Linked DNA regions of Homo sapiens: region 2 is linked to region 1. Evidence: promoter capture Hi-C in 16 types of primary human blood cells and fetal thymus (Javierre and others, 2016). All regions are on one chromosome and are shown on one strand. The core of a region is centred on a gene start or on the middle of the fragment in contact, and the rest is flanking DNA. Distances in the headings are between cores, read along the strand shown. Region 1 holds the start of PRLHR (prolactin releasing hormone receptor). Region 2 overlaps LINC03036 (long intergenic non-protein coding RNA 3036).

What was found. The method cuts DNA at HindIII sites, captures the fragments that hold promoters and counts their contacts. A CHiCAGO score of 5 or more calls a contact.
Region 2: a contact is called between a fragment that was not itself captured here and the fragment with the promoter of PRLHR in region 1, in 1 of 17 cell types (M1 macrophages). The highest score is 5.1, in M1 macrophages.

What each region holds. Positions count from the first base shown.
Region 1 is chr10:118,593,946-118,597,666 of GRCh38, reverse strand. It overlaps PRLHR (prolactin releasing hormone receptor), which reads left to right and starts at 2,019. Exons shown (of 2, transcript NM_004248.3): 1 at 2,019-2,151; 2 at 2,417-3,721. The coding sequence starts at 2,423. The coding sequence ends at 3,535. RefSeq lists enhancers at 634-1,442, 1,443-2,251, 2,252-3,060. The HindIII fragment of the contact is 5,195 bases long and covers 822-3,721 here.
Region 2 is chr10:118,988,812-118,992,574 of GRCh38, reverse strand. All of the region lies in intron 2 of LINC03036 (long intergenic non-protein coding RNA 3036), which reads left to right. Among named protein-coding and RNA genes, the nearest start is that of LINC03036, 39 kb to the left of the region's middle. The HindIII fragment of the contact is 2,749 bases long and covers 1,029-3,763 here.

The DNA.
Region 1 (3,721 bases), core at 770-3,269:
GGCCGAGGTGGGCGGATCACGAGGTCAAGAGATCAAGACCATCCTGGCCAACATGGTGAAACCCCGTCTCTACTAAAAATACAAAATCATCTGGGCATGGTGGCACGTGCCTGTAGTCACAGCTACTCGGGAGGCTGAGGCAGGAGAATCGCTTGAACCTGGGAGGCAGAGGTTGCAGTGAGCTGAGATCACACCACTGCACTCCAGCCTGGCGACAGAGCAAGACTCCGCCTCAAAAGAAACAAATAAACAAAAATTAGTCAGGCATGGTGGTGTGCACCCGTAGTTCCAGCTACTTGAGAGGCTGAGAGGTGGGAGGATGGCTTTGGCCTGGGAGGTTGAGGCTGCAGTGAGCCATGATTGTGCCACTGCACTCCAGCCTGGGTGACAGAGTGAGATCTTGTCCTAACATATACATGTATATATACACACACACTGGTTTTAGCTAAATTGATTATAACTCAGGGACCGTGAGCTTAGGATGGACAGAGGTGCATAACATTGATTACTTTTGTTCCAATATTGACTTTTTTCTATATGAGTGATTCATTTAAATTTGGAGGGTGGAATAAATTGATATTAGTTTCCAGTCTAACTGGAATATCTGCAGCCAGAGGACAAAGTACAAGGACTTATCAGAGAGGAGACAATGAAGCTCCATGCTCTGGAAAAAGGAAACAAGAGGCTGAGGGAATGAGATAGCTTCTAAGGAGGGAGCTTACAAAGGCCCCTCCTCCCCTGGCTCTTGCCCCGTGGGCCAGGCTAATTTGCATTTCAATGAGGACTTAATACTACTGAAGATTTTATGAAACGCCTAAGCTTCTCAAATGTTTGTTACTTTTGTTACCCTAGCTGAAATCTGCAATTACCAGTATTTTTAAAAAATCCTAAAATGAAGAGAAGAGGCCTGTGGGTGTTCAGTCAAGGAGGGAGGGGTCAAGTCTCAGTCCAGGAACTACTCTGTGCTGGGAGAAGCAGCCAGATACGGCACAGGTCGCGGTAGCCGAGAAAGAAAGCGAGAGAAAGGGTGAGCCGGGGAGTCGCTGGGCCAGACTGAAGTGTGCCTGTGTAGAATAACTGGCAGGAGAGCTGCATTTTCTGACCCCGGGAGGTAAAAGACGACGCCGTCCTTGGCACTGAGTGCGGTGACCACCAAGAGGAGCAAAAGTCATGAGTCTCCGACCCCCAGGCCCCCGGCTCAGCTGCCTCCACTCCACCCTACTCTTCTCAGCCCCAGCCCAGAAAGCAGGCAGCGAGGCAGGTCTTTGAACCGGACCAGGTTCCTTCCCCAAACACCCGGATCCAGAGAGGGGCAGGAATTCCCTAGTCATTTTCCCCTGCTCCTCCCCACATCATCCGCCCGAGGGGCGGCAGATCCAGCGGAAGCTGTCCGTGGTGCTGACTCCTGCCTTTGGCTTGGCCGGACCCGCTGCCCGCTGAGCGCGCTGCAGCCAAGCAGGGGGCTCGTGTGGCGGGGCCACGGGAGGGTGAGGGTCCTCAGGTCCGCGACCAGCTCCAGGCTCTGCTGTTAAATCCCAGCCCGAGCCCTCTAGCGTCTCTGCCCTCCGCAACCTGGCCGCTAGGCAGGATCCAGCCTTTAAGAACGGGTCAGTCGTGCCTCTCTCAAGCCCCCAGCTGCATTGCAATCTCCCACCGCTACTTCCTTCCCCGCTCCTTCCCTCCTAAGACTGCACCGGCTCCTCCCGATAGCCTGACGCTTCGCGCCTCTCCTCCGCCCTCCTCCACTGTGCGCTCCTCCGGACCCTGACCCTCCAGGGGCCGTGCAAGCTCCTGCAGTAGAGATTCGTCCTCTTCGCTGCTCTGGCCAGGTTTGCCGGCCCCTCCTCCCGTTTCGGATTCCATCCTCCCCACACTGTCCTCTTCACTAGTTCTCTAAGCACCGAGCATGGCAGAGCGCGCTCCACCCCTATTTTCCATACATGGGAGCTGGAGTGGGGGGCGGAGCTGAGGGGAGGCGCTCCCAGTCCCTCTAAGAAGCTGCTAGCCCACTGGGAAACATTTGGATCCGTTCAGCTCCCGCGGAGAAGCGAGACCGGATCACCGACGTGGGCAGAGGACTACCGAGGGCCAGCAGAAATTCTGCCCCTTCTTCCCGCGAGTGCTTTCCCGCTCTCCAAACCCCACTCCCAGGTAGGATCGCGCTCCTGAGTCTGCCTGCGTGGACTGCGAGGACCGTAAATAGAGGCGGAAGCGTTTAAATAAACCGTATGTTCTAACCGTGCTTAGGTTTATTTTACAGAGGTGAGAGGACAACACTTTTTGCTACTTTTGCTGTTGTTCTGTGGCCGGTTATTCCCAAGGGAGGACTCAGGCGATGGGGGAGGGGCGCGGCTGGTGTAGGAGGTCGGATGGAGTATGGCAAGGGAAGTGACGGACTTTGATTACCTTTGAACAGGTGGCCATGGCCTCATCGACCACTCGGGGCCCCAGGGTTTCTGACTTATTTTCTGGGCTGCCGCCGGCGGTCACAACTCCCGCCAACCAGAGCGCAGAGGCCTCGGCGGGCAACGGGTCGGTGGCTGGCGCGGACGCTCCAGCCGTCACGCCCTTCCAGAGCCTGCAGCTGGTGCATCAGCTGAAGGGGCTGATCGTGCTGCTCTACAGCGTCGTGGTGGTCGTGGGGCTGGTGGGCAACTGCCTGCTGGTGCTGGTGATCGCGCGGGTGCGCCGGCTGCACAACGTGACGAACTTCCTCATCGGCAACCTGGCCTTGTCCGACGTGCTCATGTGCACCGCCTGCGTGCCGCTCACGCTGGCCTATGCCTTCGAGCCACGCGGCTGGGTGTTCGGCGGCGGCCTGTGCCACCTGGTCTTCTTCCTGCAGCCGGTCACCGTCTATGTGTCGGTGTTCACGCTCACCACCATCGCAGTGGACCGCTACGTCGTGCTGGTGCACCCGCTGAGGCGGCGCATCTCGCTGCGCCTCAGCGCCTACGCTGTGCTGGCCATCTGGGCGCTGTCCGCGGTGCTGGCGCTGCCCGCCGCCGTGCACACCTATCACGTGGAGCTCAAGCCGCACGACGTGCGCCTCTGCGAGGAGTTCTGGGGCTCCCAGGAGCGCCAGCGCCAGCTCTACGCCTGGGGGCTGCTGCTGGTCACCTACCTGCTCCCTCTGCTGGTCATCCTCCTGTCTTACGTCCGGGTGTCAGTGAAGCTCCGCAACCGCGTGGTGCCGGGCTGCGTGACCCAGAGCCAGGCCGACTGGGACCGCGCTCGGCGCCGGCGCACCTTCTGCTTGCTGGTGGTGATCGTGGTGGTGTTCGCCGTCTGCTGGCTGCCGCTGCACGTCTTCAACCTGCTGCGGGACCTCGACCCCCACGCCATCGACCCTTACGCCTTTGGGCTGGTGCAGCTGCTCTGCCACTGGCTCGCCATGAGTTCGGCCTGCTACAACCCCTTCATCTACGCCTGGCTGCACGACAGCTTCCGCGAGGAGCTGCGCAAACTGTTGGTCGCTTGGCCCCGCAAGATAGCCCCCCATGGCCAGAATATGACCGTCAGCGTGGTCATCTGATGCCACTTAGCCAGGCCTTGGTCAAGGAGCTCCACTTCAACTGGCCTCCTAGGGCACCACTCGAGGTCAATCTGGTGCTTATTCTCAGCACCAGAGCTAGCTAAGCCAACATAGGGCAACATTTCCAGCCCAGCCCTCTTGTCCGGCTGTCTGTCTTGTCCTTGTGTGTTTGTAAAATGTTAAGCG
Region 2 (3,763 bases), core at 1,154-3,653, 390 kb before region 1:
GCTGGGACAAAGATCTGGGTCCATCATTCAAGAACATGTTCCAAATGAGTGGAGGATAAAGGAGCCCTCTTCGATAGGGATGGGTAAGTAAGTATTGTGAAAGGAAAATAAATCTCAGGACCCTAAATCACTAAGCCAAGGGAAAAGTCAAGCTGAGAACAACGTTAGGCAAACCTGCCTCCCATTTATTCTTAAATAAGATAGCCATACAGATAGAAAAGCTACATACCTCCTACATAATTTGCCTGCAAGGAAATTCCTTGTGGCCTTCAAGATCTTTACCATAAACCAGTTCCGTTGAATTTCACCCTGGCAATGTAAACTGATAGCTTATCTTCACAGGTGTGGGACAGAAAGTCATCTCTCTGCTCACCTGAGACAAATGCGTATCTGATTGCTTCCTCTGCTGATGTAAAATGCAGATTCACTGAGCCAGACTAAACTGTATCCAGTGAAAGGCTGATCAAAGACTCGAAAGAAGACAACCTTTTGTCTCTTATCTACCTATGACCTGGAAGCCCTCCCGCTTCGAGTTGTCCTCCCTTTCTGGACCAAACCAATGTACATCTTACACATATTGATTGATGTCTCATGTCTCCCTACAATGTATAAAAGCCCGCTGTATCCTGACCACCTTGGGCATGTGGTCATCAGAACCTCCTGAGGCTGTGTTGTGGGTACGTCCTTAACCTTGGCAAAATAAGCTTTTCTATATTGATTGAGATCTGTCTCAGATATTTTGGATTCACAGTGTGTCCTTACAGGCATTTCCGAGATTACTTTCATGTTTGGTGAATTGCTAGAAGGACTCATAGGGCTCAACATACAGTCATACCTATGGCTAGGATTTATCACAGCAAACCGATACAAAGAGAAATAGTAAATGGAAAAAATGCGTTGGACAAAACCTGGAGGAAACGAGGTGCAAGCTTCTAAGCGTCCTCTCCCAGCGGAGTCCATAGGATATGCTTAATTTCTCCAGCATCAGACTGAGAGAACAGGTGTGAATGTTGTAAACTGGGGAAGCTTGTCTGTGCCTAGGAGTCCAGGGTTTTTATGAAGGGTCAATTTCATAGGCACTCTTTGCCTAGCATGTATCAAATTACCAGACCCTCAGAAGGAAAGCAGGTGTCTAGCATAAACCACATTGTACAAACATTTAAGCATTCCCTAATTGACAAACTGATTAGCCCGTCTTAACAGTTAGCGAATAGGGAAAATACTCCCCAAATCCAAGTTCCCAGATACCAGCCCAGGGACAGTCTTTCAAGCAGCCCTTTCTAAGGACAGAAGTCTCAGGCCTGCTGTGTGAACCTTTTCTGTACAGTGGGGATGCCAGCTCACTTGACCACAATGAGGCACTATGCCATCAGCACTCTGGTGGGACCACCAAAGGATGGCCAGGTGTATCGACACACCTGTGTCTGCTGCAGACAGGGGACCACAGCAACTATATGTTGTGCAGCTCCTGGAAATCTGGTGTTCCTGTGACATCCACCAAACTGGGTTCTCTGCTTCTCGATGTCACCAGCCTCCCACTTAAAGTTCAAGATGTATTTGTTTGACCAATCCAAGATGAGAACCTGGCATTTTTTTGCTTCTGCAGTGGGGGTTGGGCTCTGTCTCCCAGCAAGGCTCATAGATGAGTGTATTAGTTTTCTAGGGATCTCCTAGCAAGGTACCACAGACTGGGTGACTTAAGCAACAGAAATTACTTTTCCCACAATTCTGGAGGCTAGAATTCCAAAATCAAGGTGTGGGCAGGATTGGTTTCTTTTGAGGCCTCTCTTCTTAGCTTGTAGATTGCCATCTTCCCTCCCTGTGTGTCTGTCTTAATCCTTCATCTCCTTCTCCTTTTTTTTTTTCCATTTAAAAAATTGTAGTGGAATACACATAACAAATTTTAACATTTTAAACATTTTTAAGTGTACAGTTATATCAACGTATTAATTTGGCATAAAAGTAATTGCAGTTTTTCCCATTAAAGGTAATGGCAAAACAGCAATTACTTTTGCATCTACTATTACAGACCTTCATAATGATGTGCAAATATCATTACCATCTACCTCCAGAACTCTTCATGCTGTAAAACTGAAACTCTATACCCATTAAACACTAACTCCCTATTCTCCTTTCTCCTGAGCTCTCTGAGCCCTATGTTTTCTTCTAAGCATCTATAGTTTTAGGTCTTACATTTAGGTCTTTGATCCATTTTTTAGTTAATTTTTGTATATGGTGTTAGGTAAGGGTCCAGTTTCATTCTTTTGCTTGTGGATGTTCAGATTTCCCAGCACCATTTGTTGAATAAACTGTCTTTTGCCATGGAATGGTTTTGGCACCTTTGTCAAAAATCAGTAAATCCAGCTGGGCAGGGTGGCTCATGCCTGCAATCCCGCAACTTTGGGAGGCTGAGGTGGGTGGATCACCTGAGGTCAGGAGTTTGAGACCAGCCTGGCTAACATGGTAAAACCCTGTTTCTACTAAAAATACAAAAACCAGCCAGGCATGGTGGTGGGCTCCTGTAACCCCAGCTACTCAGGAAGCTGAGGCACGAGAACCGCTTGAACCCAGGAGATAGAGGTTGCAGTGAGCCGAGGTCCCGCCACTGCACTCCAACCTAGGCGACAAGAGTGAAGCTCTGTTTCAAAAAAAAAAAATTAATAAACCCCATGTGAGGGTTTATTATTTCTGGGCTCTCTATTCCATTGGTCTATATGTTATCTTTATGCCAGTTCCACACTGGTTTGATTACCATAGCTTTGTAGTAAGTTTGAAATCAGGAAGTATGAATTTTCCAGCTTTGCTGTTCTTTTTCAAGATTGTTTTGGCTGTTCATGGTCCTTTGAGATTCCATGTGAATTTTAGGATGGGGTTTTCTATTTCTTTGAAAAACATCATTAGGATTTTGTTAGGGATTGCATTGAATCTGTAGATTGCTTTGGGTAGTATTGACATCTTAGTAGTAGTAGTTTTCCAATCCATGAATGTGGGATGTGTTTCCATTTATTTATGTCTTCTTTATTTTATTTATTCACTTATTTTTATTATTTTTTTTTTGAGACAGGGTCTCACTCTGTTGCCCAGCCTGGAGTGCAGTGGTGCAATCATGACTCACTGCAGCCTCAACCTCCAGGGCTCAGGGAATCCTCCTACCTCAGCCTCCTGAGTAGCTGAGACTACAGGTGTGTGCCACCACGTCTGTCGCATTTTTGTATTTTTTCTTTTTTGTAAAGATGGGGTTTCACTATGTTTCCCAGACTGGTCTTGAACTTCTGGGCTCAGGTGATCCTTTCACCTCAGCCTCCCAAAGTGTTGGGATTATAGACATGAGCCACCGTGCCCAGCCTATGTCTTCTTTATTTCAGCAATGTTTTGTAGTTTTCATTCTACAAATCTTTCACCCCCTTGGTTAATTCCTAAGTATTCTATTCATTTTGTTACTGTTGTACATGGAATTGTTTTTGTAATTTCCATTTCAGATTGCGCATTGTTAGTGTTTAGAAATGCAACTAGTTTTTGTGTGTTGATTTTGTATCTTACTACTTTGCTGAATTCATTTATTAGTTCCAGCTTTTTTTTGGGTGAAATACTTAGGGTTTTCTACATATGAAAATCATATCATCTCTGAACGGAGATAATTTTGCTTCTTTTTTTTTTTCCAATTGGATGTTTTTATTTCTTTTTCTTGACGAATTTCTCTTGCTAGAATTTCCACTGCTATGTTGAAGTGGCAAAAGTGGGCATCCTTGCCTTCTTCCTGATC